2 separate regions of the Homo sapiens genome follow, and region 1 is linked to region 2. The links are contacts of gene promoters, found by promoter capture Hi-C in human tissues and cell types (Jung and others, 2019). All regions are on one chromosome and are shown on one strand. Each heading gives the region's core, a stretch centred on a gene start or on the middle of the fragment in contact. The rest is flanking DNA. Distances are from core to core; before and after follow the strand shown. Region 1 holds the start of GSDMA (gasdermin A). Region 2 holds the start of MSL1 (MSL complex subunit 1).

What was found. Contacts are between HindIII fragments. The study calls those that stand out against the background at their distance.
Region 1: a fragment that was not itself captured here is called in contact with the fragment with the promoter of MSL1 in region 2 in 1 of the 25 tissues and cell types used here (hippocampus).

The regions. Positions count from the first base shown.
Region 1 is chr17:39,958,749-39,963,858 of GRCh38, forward strand. It overlaps GSDMA (gasdermin A), which reads left to right and starts at 4,256. Exons shown (of 12, transcript NM_178171.5): 1 at 4,256-4,337. The HindIII fragment of the contact is 3,350 bases long and covers 1-3,191 here.
Region 2 is chr17:40,119,640-40,124,855 of GRCh38, forward strand. It overlaps MSL1 (MSL complex subunit 1), which reads left to right and starts at 2,332. Exons shown (of 9, transcript NM_001365919.1): 1 at 2,332-3,741. The coding sequence starts at 2,974. It overlaps LOC124904001 (a long non-coding RNA gene), which reads right to left and starts at 2,201. Exons shown (of 2, transcript XR_007065752.1): 1 at 2,145-2,201; 2 at 890-1,774. RefSeq lists silencers at 1,783-1,942, 2,173-2,372, 2,413-2,622, 2,683-2,822, 2,923-2,972 and 1 more and an enhancer at 3,173-3,811. The HindIII fragment of the contact is 12,972 bases long and covers 1-4,876 here.

The DNA of each region.
Region 1 (5,110 bases), core at 267-2,766, 160 kb before region 2:
CCAGGTACTCGGGAGGCTGAGGCAGGAGAATCACTTGAACCTGGGAGGCGGAGGTTGCAGTGAACCGAGATTGTGCCACTGCACTCCAGCCAGCAATAGTGTGAGGCTCGGTCTCAAAAAACAACAACAAAAACAATAACAAAAGGGAAAATGAGTAAGGAAATAATGCCCTGTCCCAATGACTGTGTCTGTCTGCAGTGCACTCTATGGGTCAGAGAGACAGCAATGGTCCCACGGGGCAGGTGCCTGGGGCTTCCTCTCCTAAATCAATTCTCTCTCCTGATCCCTGTCTCCTAACAACCCTACATAGTCACAAGCTTGGTCTCTAAATCAGAGGTGATCATTGTCCATCACTACCTTAATTGACCACCAGAGGGAGGTAGAGAGCAAAGTTTACCGCCTGCCTGAGCAGCACTCACCGCATGACCAGGTCCTGCTTCCTTATTGTCTCTTTTAATTGACCTGAAGCGTCCTTACAAGGCAGTCTAACTTAAATATCCGCCAGTACAATTTAAATTCTGCCCCAGGCCGGGCGCAGTGGCTCACGCCTGTAACCCCAGCACTTTGGGAGACCGAGGCAGGAGGACTGCTTGAGCCTAGGAGTTCAAGATCAGCCTGAGCAACATAGGGAGACTCCCTTCTCTACAAAAAATTAAAAAGTGAGCCAGGCATGGCCGGGCGCAGTGGCTCAAGCCTGTAATCCTAGCACTTTGGGAGGCCGAGGCGGGCAGATCACGAGGTCAGGAGATCGAGACCATCCTGGCTAACATGGTGAAACCCCGTCTTTACTAAAAATACAAAAAATTAGCCAAGCGTGGTGGTGCGTGCCTGTAATCCCAGCTATTTTGGAGGCTGAGGTAGGAGAATCGCTTGAACCCGGGAGGCGGAGGTTGCAGTGAGCCAATATTGTGCCATTGCACTCCAGCCTGGGCGATAAGAGCAAGACTCCATCTCAAAAAAAAAAAAAAAAAAGCCAGGTGTGGTGACACATGCCTATAGTTCCAGGTACTGGGAGCAGGGAGCGGGCACTGAGATGAGAGAATCCCTTTAGCCCAGGAAGTCAAGGCTGCAGTGAGCCATGACTGCACCACTGCACTCCAGCCTGGGCAACAGAGTGAGAACCTGTCTCAAAAAAAAAAAAAAACAGAAAGAAAGAAAGAAAAGAAAAAGACGCAGCTGGGCACGGTAGCTCACGCTTGTAATCCCAGCACCTTCAGAGGCCGAGGTGGGTGGATCACCTGAGGTCAGGAGTTCGAGACCAGCCTGGCGAACAGGGTTGAAACCCCGTCTTTACTAAAAATACAAAAATTAGTTGGGAGCGGTGGCATGTGCTTGTAACCCAGCTACTCGGGAGGCTGAGGTAGGAGAATTGCTTGAACCCAGGAGGCGGAGGTTGCAGTGAGCCGAGATTACACCACTGCCCTCCAGCCTGGGAGACAGAGTGAGGCTCCATCTCAAAAAAAAAAAAAAGAAAAGAAAGAAAAAGAGGCAGGGCACCCTGGATGGGAGGAAGGAGCACCACCAAGACAAGCCTAAATGTGGATATTTTCATTCCAAAAGCACAAGAACTTCAACCTGGCTGACCCCACAAGCCCATATATCTCCTCCCTGCCTTGAACTCACCAAGCCCCCTGCTTGGAATACCAGTAGGCAGTCTGAGGGAATGGGACAATGTGGTGCAGGCAGGGTCGGGACGACACCAGGAGTGTGAGGACAGGCCCGGCAGAGTGCTCTGAGATCAGACTGAAGGCGGGAGAAATGAGAGAAGCAAGACTTCCCGGTCAGAGGAGAGAAAGCTGACTAGATGGGCTTTGCAGGTCCTTGGGGAGAGCAGAGCCACGTGTGGCTTTTAGATGCCACTGTTCTCCAGATCTTTGCAGAATCCACTAAACTAGGAACCTTGGCCTGCAGCCAGTGGGAGAAGGGTAGTCACTGGGAAGAAACTCCCAAAAGTCTGACCGAGGCAATGCTAGGCTGGTGAGAGGGTGGGAGTGGGACTATCTTCCCTGGAGCTGATTAAGGCATAAGGAGACTGCACAGCCTCAGGACTATATGCTGAAATGCAGGCATCACGTCAGTGTAGTGGCTGAGAGATACAAGGAGGAAGAGGTGGAAATCCAGGAAAACAGACAGAGATGAAAGGACTATAACACACACAGCAGGTTTCTATGTAAATATGTGCTTGTGATAGGGACCAGATGACTAACGACAACCTTTTTTTTCTTTTTCTTTTTTTTTTTTTTGAATCGGAGTCTTGCTCTGTCGCCCAGCCTGGCATGCAGTGGCACGATCTCGGCTCACTGCAACCTCCACCTCCCGGGTTCAAGTGATTCTCCTGCCTCAGCCTCCCAAGTAGCTGGGATTACAGGCACCTGCCACCACGCCCAGCTAATTTTTGCAGTTTTGGTAGAGATGGTGTTTCCCTCATGTTGGCCAGGCTGGTCTCGAACTCCTGACCTCAGGTGATCCACCCACTTCTGCCTCCCAAAGTGCTGGAATTACAGCCGTGAACCACCGCACCCAGCCTAACGACAACCTTCCCACACACTCAAGCCCCCACCTCTGCCTCTCCTAAGGAGAAGGGACATTTGATTGCTGGAATGGCTGGAGCTGTGGAAGGAGGATGAAGTATTGGGTGGCTGCAGTGAGCCATGATCAAGCCACTGCGCTCCAGCCTGGGTGACAGAGCGAGGCCCCGTCTCAAAAAGGTGTAGGGTGGATGGGAAAGTATGTAAAGAAAAAGAGAGTGAGCAGGGACCAGAGAGGCAGAGGCAAGGCTTGGCTTTGTTCTGTTTCAAGACATAGAGAAGAGATATTTGGGAGCATCTGTCATATTGAATGAGACTTTGGGGACACAAGTGGAGTAATGACTATTTTAGGGAGTTTTCCTAAGTGTGGAATGGTCTAGTCTCATTCACCATCAGCCCCTCAAGGAAACGTTCAGTAAAGATGGAATTGGCCGGGCGCAGTGGCTCATCCTGTAATCCCAGCACTTTGGGAGGCCGAGGCGGGCGGATCATGAGGTCAGGAGATCAAGACCCTCCTGGCCAACATGGCGAAACCCCGTCTCTAATAAAAATACAAAACTAGCCAGGCATGGTGGTGCATGCCTGTAATCCCAGCTACTCGGGAGGCTGAGGCAGAGAACTGTTTGAACCCGGGAGGTGGAAGTTGCAGTGAGCTGAGATTGCACCGCTGCACTCCAGCCTGGAGGACAGAGCGAGACTCCTTCTCAAAAAAAAAAAAGATGGAATTTACTCTTCACAGCATTCAGGGTTGCGTTTCTTTTTCCATGAGTGGTACTAAGAAGAGCCTCAAGGTGGGAGCAGGAAGGCTCTGCTGTGTCAGGTTATACCTGCACATATGCATGGCCACATGGCCCAACACTGTAAGGGCCTTGCTTGTAAGTCCCTTATTCTGTCCTCTAGCAATGTGACCATGTAGGCAACATTTGAAATTCCTTTAAAATTCCTTCTAGGCAGAGATTTAAGCTAAGAGGAGGACCTGAGTGACCTCTGGTGCAACATCTGAAAGCCCACGACAAGCCTCCTGGGCTTTTCCATGAATATCGCCGTGCCCCTGCCTACGGATATGCTGATGTGTGTATACAATATTCTGTGAGAAGCAGAGACGCTGAACACTAAACAACACAAACCCATTTGGTCTAACTCCATCTCTGCCTACTCAGACATCTGCTTCTAGCGGTATCAGAGTTATGTCTATGTAGCTAAAACAAATGGAGTAAGGCAGCAATACACACAGGCTGACAAGCCCAGGATGGAGGGCGGCACTGCAGATGCTCTGCTCTCTACTGGAATGTGTGGACATACAGGAATCCCTATCCCAGGACACCCGCAGACCCCCACCATGAATCCGAGATGCTCCCCAATGACGGTGATGATGACAGAACAGAGATGCCATCCCTGGTCACACACACACACACACACACACACACACTCCCACTGCCTCCCTCTGCACCCCTCCCAAAGGCACCTGCCTTCCTCTCCTCTCAATCCACAAGCCAACCTCCAGCTGCCACCTCTCTATCAGCCTTGGCTACCCCCACCCACGCTGGCACCTGCCTGGCAGCTCCCTATCCACCCCCTCAGCCCTCAGGAGGCCAGGGCACACGTGGAACAGGTTGATGTTGTTCTCCAGGAAGTGGAGTGGGAGGGGGGTGGGGTCACTAGGGCAGGCGGGGTCCCCGGAAGCCTCTGTCCCTGCATAAAGCAGCCTGTCCTGGCAAGGGATGGTCATCCTCTCAACCTACAGACCCAGTGAGCCCTAGGCCCTCACCCCAGACCCAGCTGCTGGATAGGACCCAGCCCCGCTCCCAGGTAAGAACTTGATGACAGCAGGGAAGGCAGGGGTGCTCTGAGGACACAGGAAGATGGGTGGACCAAGAAGGGAATGGAACTCCCCTAGAGTCCAGTGGGATAAGTATCCCGATAGGCCTTGGGGAGGGAAGGGAGAGGCAGGCCTGTGGACATCTCTCTGGTGAAGAGGAGGCTGCTGTTGCCCAAGCCCTTCCCAGGTGCACCCAGGTAGCACCAGGAGGTTGTCCTGCCCCATCCTGGCCCTCCCAGGAATGAGGGTGAAAAAAAAAAAGCACCTTGAAGCTGGCAGAACAGCCCCACGCATCTGTGCCGTGCTTCCTGCCCCCCCTGCTGCTGTGAAGTGCCTGTGGTGGATGTGGGATGCTTCCAAGCCAGCTGGTGTGGCCTCTTCCACCCACGGGGATAACTGGGGTGTGCCGATCGGCCACCCAGCCAGAGCACCTGGACTCAAACTTCAAAGACAGAGACTTAAGATGTTGACCCTCAGGTCAGGTGCGGTGGCTCACACCTGTAATCCCAGCACTTTGGGAGGGTGAGATGGGCGGATCACCTGAGGTCAGGAGTTCAAGACCAGCCTGGCCAACATGGTGAAACACCGTCTCTACTAAAAACACAAAAATTAGCTGGGCATGGTGGCAGGCGCCTGTAATCCCAGCTACCTGGGAGACTGAGGCAGGAGAATCACTTGAACCCAGGAGATGGAGGTTGCAGTGAGCCGAGATCATGCCATTGCACTCCAGCCTGGGCAACAAGAATGAAACTCCATCTCAAAA
Region 2 (5,216 bases), core at 1,082-3,581:
AAGTTTGAAATACCTAGGCCGGGCGCGGTGGTTCACACCTGTAATCCCAGCACTCTGGGAGGCCGAGGCGGGCAGATCACGAGGTCAGGAGATGAGACCATCCTGACTAACACAGTGAAACCACGTCTCTACTAAAAAATACAAAAAATTAGCCAGGCGTAGTGGCAGGCGCCTGTAGTCCCAGCTACTGGGGAGGCTGAGGCAGAATGGCGTGAACCCGGGAGGAGCTCGCAGTGAGCCGAGATCGTGCCACTGCACTCCAGCACTCCAGCCTGGGCAACAGAGCAAGACTCCACCTCAAAAAAAAGAAATACCTATTAGACATCCAACTGGGTATGTATACTAGACAGTTGGATATATGATTCTGGAGTTAGGGGATGAGTCCAGAAAGAAATATAAATTACGGAGCTGTCAGCGTAGAGATGGTGCAGAAAGTCTTGACGCTGAAGGCTGGGCACAGTGGCTCACTCCTATAATCCCAGCACTTTGGGACGCCCAGGTGGGAGGATCGCTTGAGCGAGTTCAATACCAGCCTGGGCAACAAAGGCTGGTATTACAAAGGCCCGTCTCTACAAAAAAATAAAAAGTTAGCCAGGTGTGGCAGCCCAAGCCTGTTGTCCCAGCTACTTAGGAGACTGAGGTGGGAGGATCACTTGAGCCCTGGAGGTTGAGGCTGCAGTGAACCATAATTGTGCCACTGTACTCTAGCCTTGGGGACACAGCAAGACCCCAGTGCCACAAACACACAAGCCTTGACATGGAAAGAGATCACCACATTCTATGTGCCCTCTCATCCCTGCTCACTCCATTACTTGGTGTCCCTAAGCTCAATACTTCCCTTGCTGATCTGAGGCCATACAGTCTGGTGAAAGAGGGCCGGACTCTTGGCTTCTTAACACATTCACATACGTTTGTTTAAAATTTCCAGTGTTTCATGCTTTCAGCCCACAAAGCACAGACACAGTTTTAATGAGAGGTTTTCACATCAGGCCAGAGAATGTCAGTCTTCTCCATCTCCATAGAGATTTTAAAAAGCACACCTCAGACAAAAAAGAAAAACAAGCAATTAAGACTATTTCAGGGCTGGGCACGGTGGCTCACACCTGTAATCCCACCACTTTGGGAGGCCGAGGCGGGCGGATCACCTGAAGTCGGGAGTTCCAGACCAGCCTGACCAAGGAGAAATCCTGTCTCTACTAAAAATACAAAATTAGCTGGGCGTGGTGGCGCGTGACTGTAATCCCAGCTACTCGGGAGGCTGAGGCAGGAGAATCGCTTGAACCCCGGAGGCGGAGGTTGCAGTGAGCTGAATTTCACCATTGCACTCCAGCCTGGGCGACAGAGTGAGAATCCGTCTCAAAAAAAAAAAACGTTTTTTTCACAAGGAATTCTGAGGACTTGTTGGCTCAATTGCTTGGACATAAAGACACACATACATGAAGCTGGAGAGATAGGAAGAAGCGCTCAACACAGAACACCCTAAGTATCCCTACTCCCTTTCAAGGACTAAATCCCTTCAGAGATTTCCTTTGCTTCAGTCCTTCAGGAGCCTCCCGAAGATGCTAGGAGTCGTTTAAGAAGGCTGGAAGATGGCCGTTGGGAAGGAACTGTTGGTAGCTGGCAATACTTCATCCCAAGGAGGCGGTGGCAATAGCTCCCTGGGCAGCAGACATCATGGATTTTCCTCCCTCTGGGAACCAGAGGTCCCTCCGTTTCTGGTTTGAATCCCTTAGAGACAAAGAACTTCATTCTCTCCCATACCCGCGTGGGACTGCTGGGGAGGAGAGGGGGTGGAGGGGTTAGACTTCTACCCCCATGAAACACCCGCGGGCTCAAAGAGGAGCCTGGATCCTGACTGGTCCAGGAGGCGTGCGGGGCCGCGGGGCCCCTCCGGCTTGGGCCAGGCGCGTTGCCAAGATGCCCGGGGAAGGGGCCGCCCGGCGCAGGCCGGGGACGTGGAGCGCTCGGGGCGCTCCCACGTAGGCCACACATTGGCCGCCTGTATCCTCCTTCTTTCCTCTCAACTCCATTCTCTCGCGCTTTTTTCCCGGGGAGCCTCCGCTTTCCCCTTCTTCCCGCGGCCGCCCTCGCCCTTCTTCCCCCTCCAGACCCTCCCCCGGCTCGCCCCTCCCTCGGCAGCCCACCTTCACCCCGCTCCTCCGCGCGCTCCTCGGTCCTCGCCCCTCAGCCCCGGCCTCCCCTCGCCGGCCCCCGGCCCCCGCGGTCCCCTCCCTGCCCCCCTCGAGGCGGCGGCGGCCCCTTTCACAATAGCGCGGCCCGCCTCCCTCCTCTCGGCTCCCGGTGCACTCCCGCCCGCTCCCCTCCCCGCGCATGCGTCCTCCGGTTGGCGGCGGCTGCGGCGGTGGCGGCTACGAGCGGCTCCGTTTTTTTAAAGGGAAACGCTGAGGCGCCGGGGGTGACTGTGGGGGAGGGGGACCCCGAGCCGCGGAGACCCCCGGGAGAGGCGACAGACCCCCTCTCCCGGAGTAGGAGGGCTTTGGGCGGACCCAGCCCTCCACCCCCTCCTGAGGAGGAGGGGGGGGAAATGGAGGCTCGGGGCGGTTGAGGCGAGCTCCGGGGCGGGGGGCCGGGGCGGGGAAGGGGGGGTGCGGGGTGGGGAGACGAGGCGGGCCCGGCCGGGCCAGGGGGGGCCGAAGCGAGCTCCGGGGATGAGCTCGGGGGCGGCTGGGTGCGAGCTCCTGCCTCTGAGGCGAAGGCGGCGGCGGCGGCAGCAGAGGCGGCGGCGAGGCCCCCATGGGCCGGCGGCGGGCCTCAGCCGCGGCCTCCACGTCTCCGCACGCCGGCGGGATGGCGCCCGGGCCCCGGAGGAGCCGCGCTAGCGGAGGCCTGCTGCCGCGCTGCTGAGGCGAGCCCGCCAAACTCCCCTCCCCCCCCTCAGTCCTCGACCCCCCGCACCTCGCCCCTTCCCCACCCCCTCCTCCGCCTCGGTGCCCGGCGCTGCTCCGGACCACTATGACCATGAGATCCGCGGTGTTCAAGGCGGCCGCGGCCCCTGCCGGCGGCAATCCTGAGCAGCGACTGGACTACGAGCGGGCTGCGGCGCTGGGCGGGCCCGAGGACGAGCCTGGGGCGGCCGAAGCCCACTTCCTCCCCCGGCACCGTAAGCTCAAGGAGCCGGGGCCCCCGCTGGCCTCCTCCCAGGGCGGGAGCCCCGCGCCTTCCCCGGCCGGCTGCGGCGGCAAGGGCCGGGGCTTGTTACTCCCGGCCGGGGCGGCCCCCGGGCAGCAGGAAGAGAGCTGGGGCGGTTCGGTGCCCTTGCCCTGTCCGCCCCCGGCCACCAAGCAAGCCGGCATTGGGGGGGAGCCTGCCGCAGCCGGAGCCGGCTGCAGCCCCCGGCCCAAGTATCAGGCGGTGCTGCCCATTCAGACGGGCTCTCTCGTGGCGGCGGCCAAAGAGCCTACGCCCTGGGCTGGGGACAAGGGTGGGGCGGCCTCCCCCGCTGCCACCGCCTCGGACCCGGCGGGACCCCCACCACTACCTCTGCCCGGGCCGCCACCCCTCGCGCCCACCGCCACCGCCGGGACCCTGGCGGCCAGCGAGGGCAGATGGAAGAGTATGAGGAAGAGCCCTCTCGGGGGTGGTGGCGGCTCGGGAGCCTCCAGTCAGGCCGCCTGCCTCAAACAGATCCTTCTGCTGCAATTGGACCTCATCGAACAGCAGCAGCAGCAGCTGCAGGCCAAGGAAAAGGAGATCGAGGAGCTGAAGTCAGAGAGAGACACGGTACGGGAGGGGTTAATCTGCATTCGGGCCGAGGAGCGAGTTGTGCGCATGCTCGGGGGAAGGGGGCTGTAGGAGGTTAAGGCACCCCCGGGTTAGGGGTAAAGGAGGTTGGCCACCGGCAAAGGAGTATCTTAGGCGCTGGGTCTCTGGGAGCCAGGCTCACAGACACGTTGGGTTGGAGGGAAGGGTTAAAGGGCAACCTCTCAGGGGGAGGGGGAGGGGTTTCAGGTGCCAAAGGGTTAATTTAAAATGACAGCCCCAGACGTGTGGGAAAGACGTTTAGTGGAAAAAGACGTGATCTGTGAGGGGTTAAAAATGAAAGGGTGGGGTGTAGGTGTTGTGTCCTTATGGAAGGGTTAAATTAAAGAGCTATTGCGTTAGAAATGCACGGTGGAGGAGAGGGCTGTAGCAAGCAGCTGTTGCTTTCACCACTGCTGCAGCATCTTTAGATAGGAGGGCAGTAGGCCTTTTAGTGGGCACAGGGGTAGAGGTGATTTACGTGGAATCCTATTTTAGTTTTCTTAAATGATATTAAGAGAATCACTGCCTTTGATTTCAGACAGCTTTTAATAGGAACCTGAGTTCTAATACATGACCCACTGACCAGGTCCCTTTTATAAGCATGGTGTTTGAAACTGGAAGATTTTAGGGCATCAGGGGAAAGTAAGCTTATTAAATGTATTAAATAGACCTCCCCATCCTTATTTTAGAATCTTAGGGAGTAGGAAAGTCGTTTATTATTTCTTTACTTCTGAGGAGCTTGGACGACACAGGCTTGTTTTTACTGCAGCAGTAGTTAAGGGCATCTCTGCGTTAAAACATATTCCTTCAGATATGAGGGAAGCTGGGGTGGGGGGTATTACTGTGCTAGCATACCTTACAGCTGCCTAAAAATAAACATGGTTTCTACAATTGTTGTGTTCAGGCTGCAGCAGTCTCTCTCTCCCTCTCTCCCTCCCTCTTCCTCCCTCCCTGTCTCTTTCCCTTTCTCTCTCTCTCTCTCTCCCTCCCTCCCCGCCGTCCTCATCTCTCCCTCTCTCCTCTTTCTCTCTGGCGTCGTGTGCGCTAAGAGCTGAGCAAGGGAGCAAGCGGCTATTCATTTTGTTTGCTTTCCAAATGAATCTCATCGGGTGGCTGTTTTATTGGAGAATGCATTCTGCAAGGTGGATTGGGAGCTGGGGCAGGTCTCATTAAAATATCTCATGGTGTTGATTTGTGGAAGTTACTCAACATGGAGGTGGCACTGCTCAGACTGTACTGCAGTCTAGGGGTGTGATGGTACCGTAATTACAACACATCATATCCTTGTATGGGGGGAGTGGGAAGAGAAGGACCAGTGAAGGAGAAAAAAATCAAGGAAATGTCACCCACAAATGGTGGTTAAGGGCTGTGAATCAAAACATATACAAGGAGATGAAATGAGAGTATGGCTGATAGGGGGGTTCTCTGCTGATTGTGGAGGTTTCTGCTCAGTT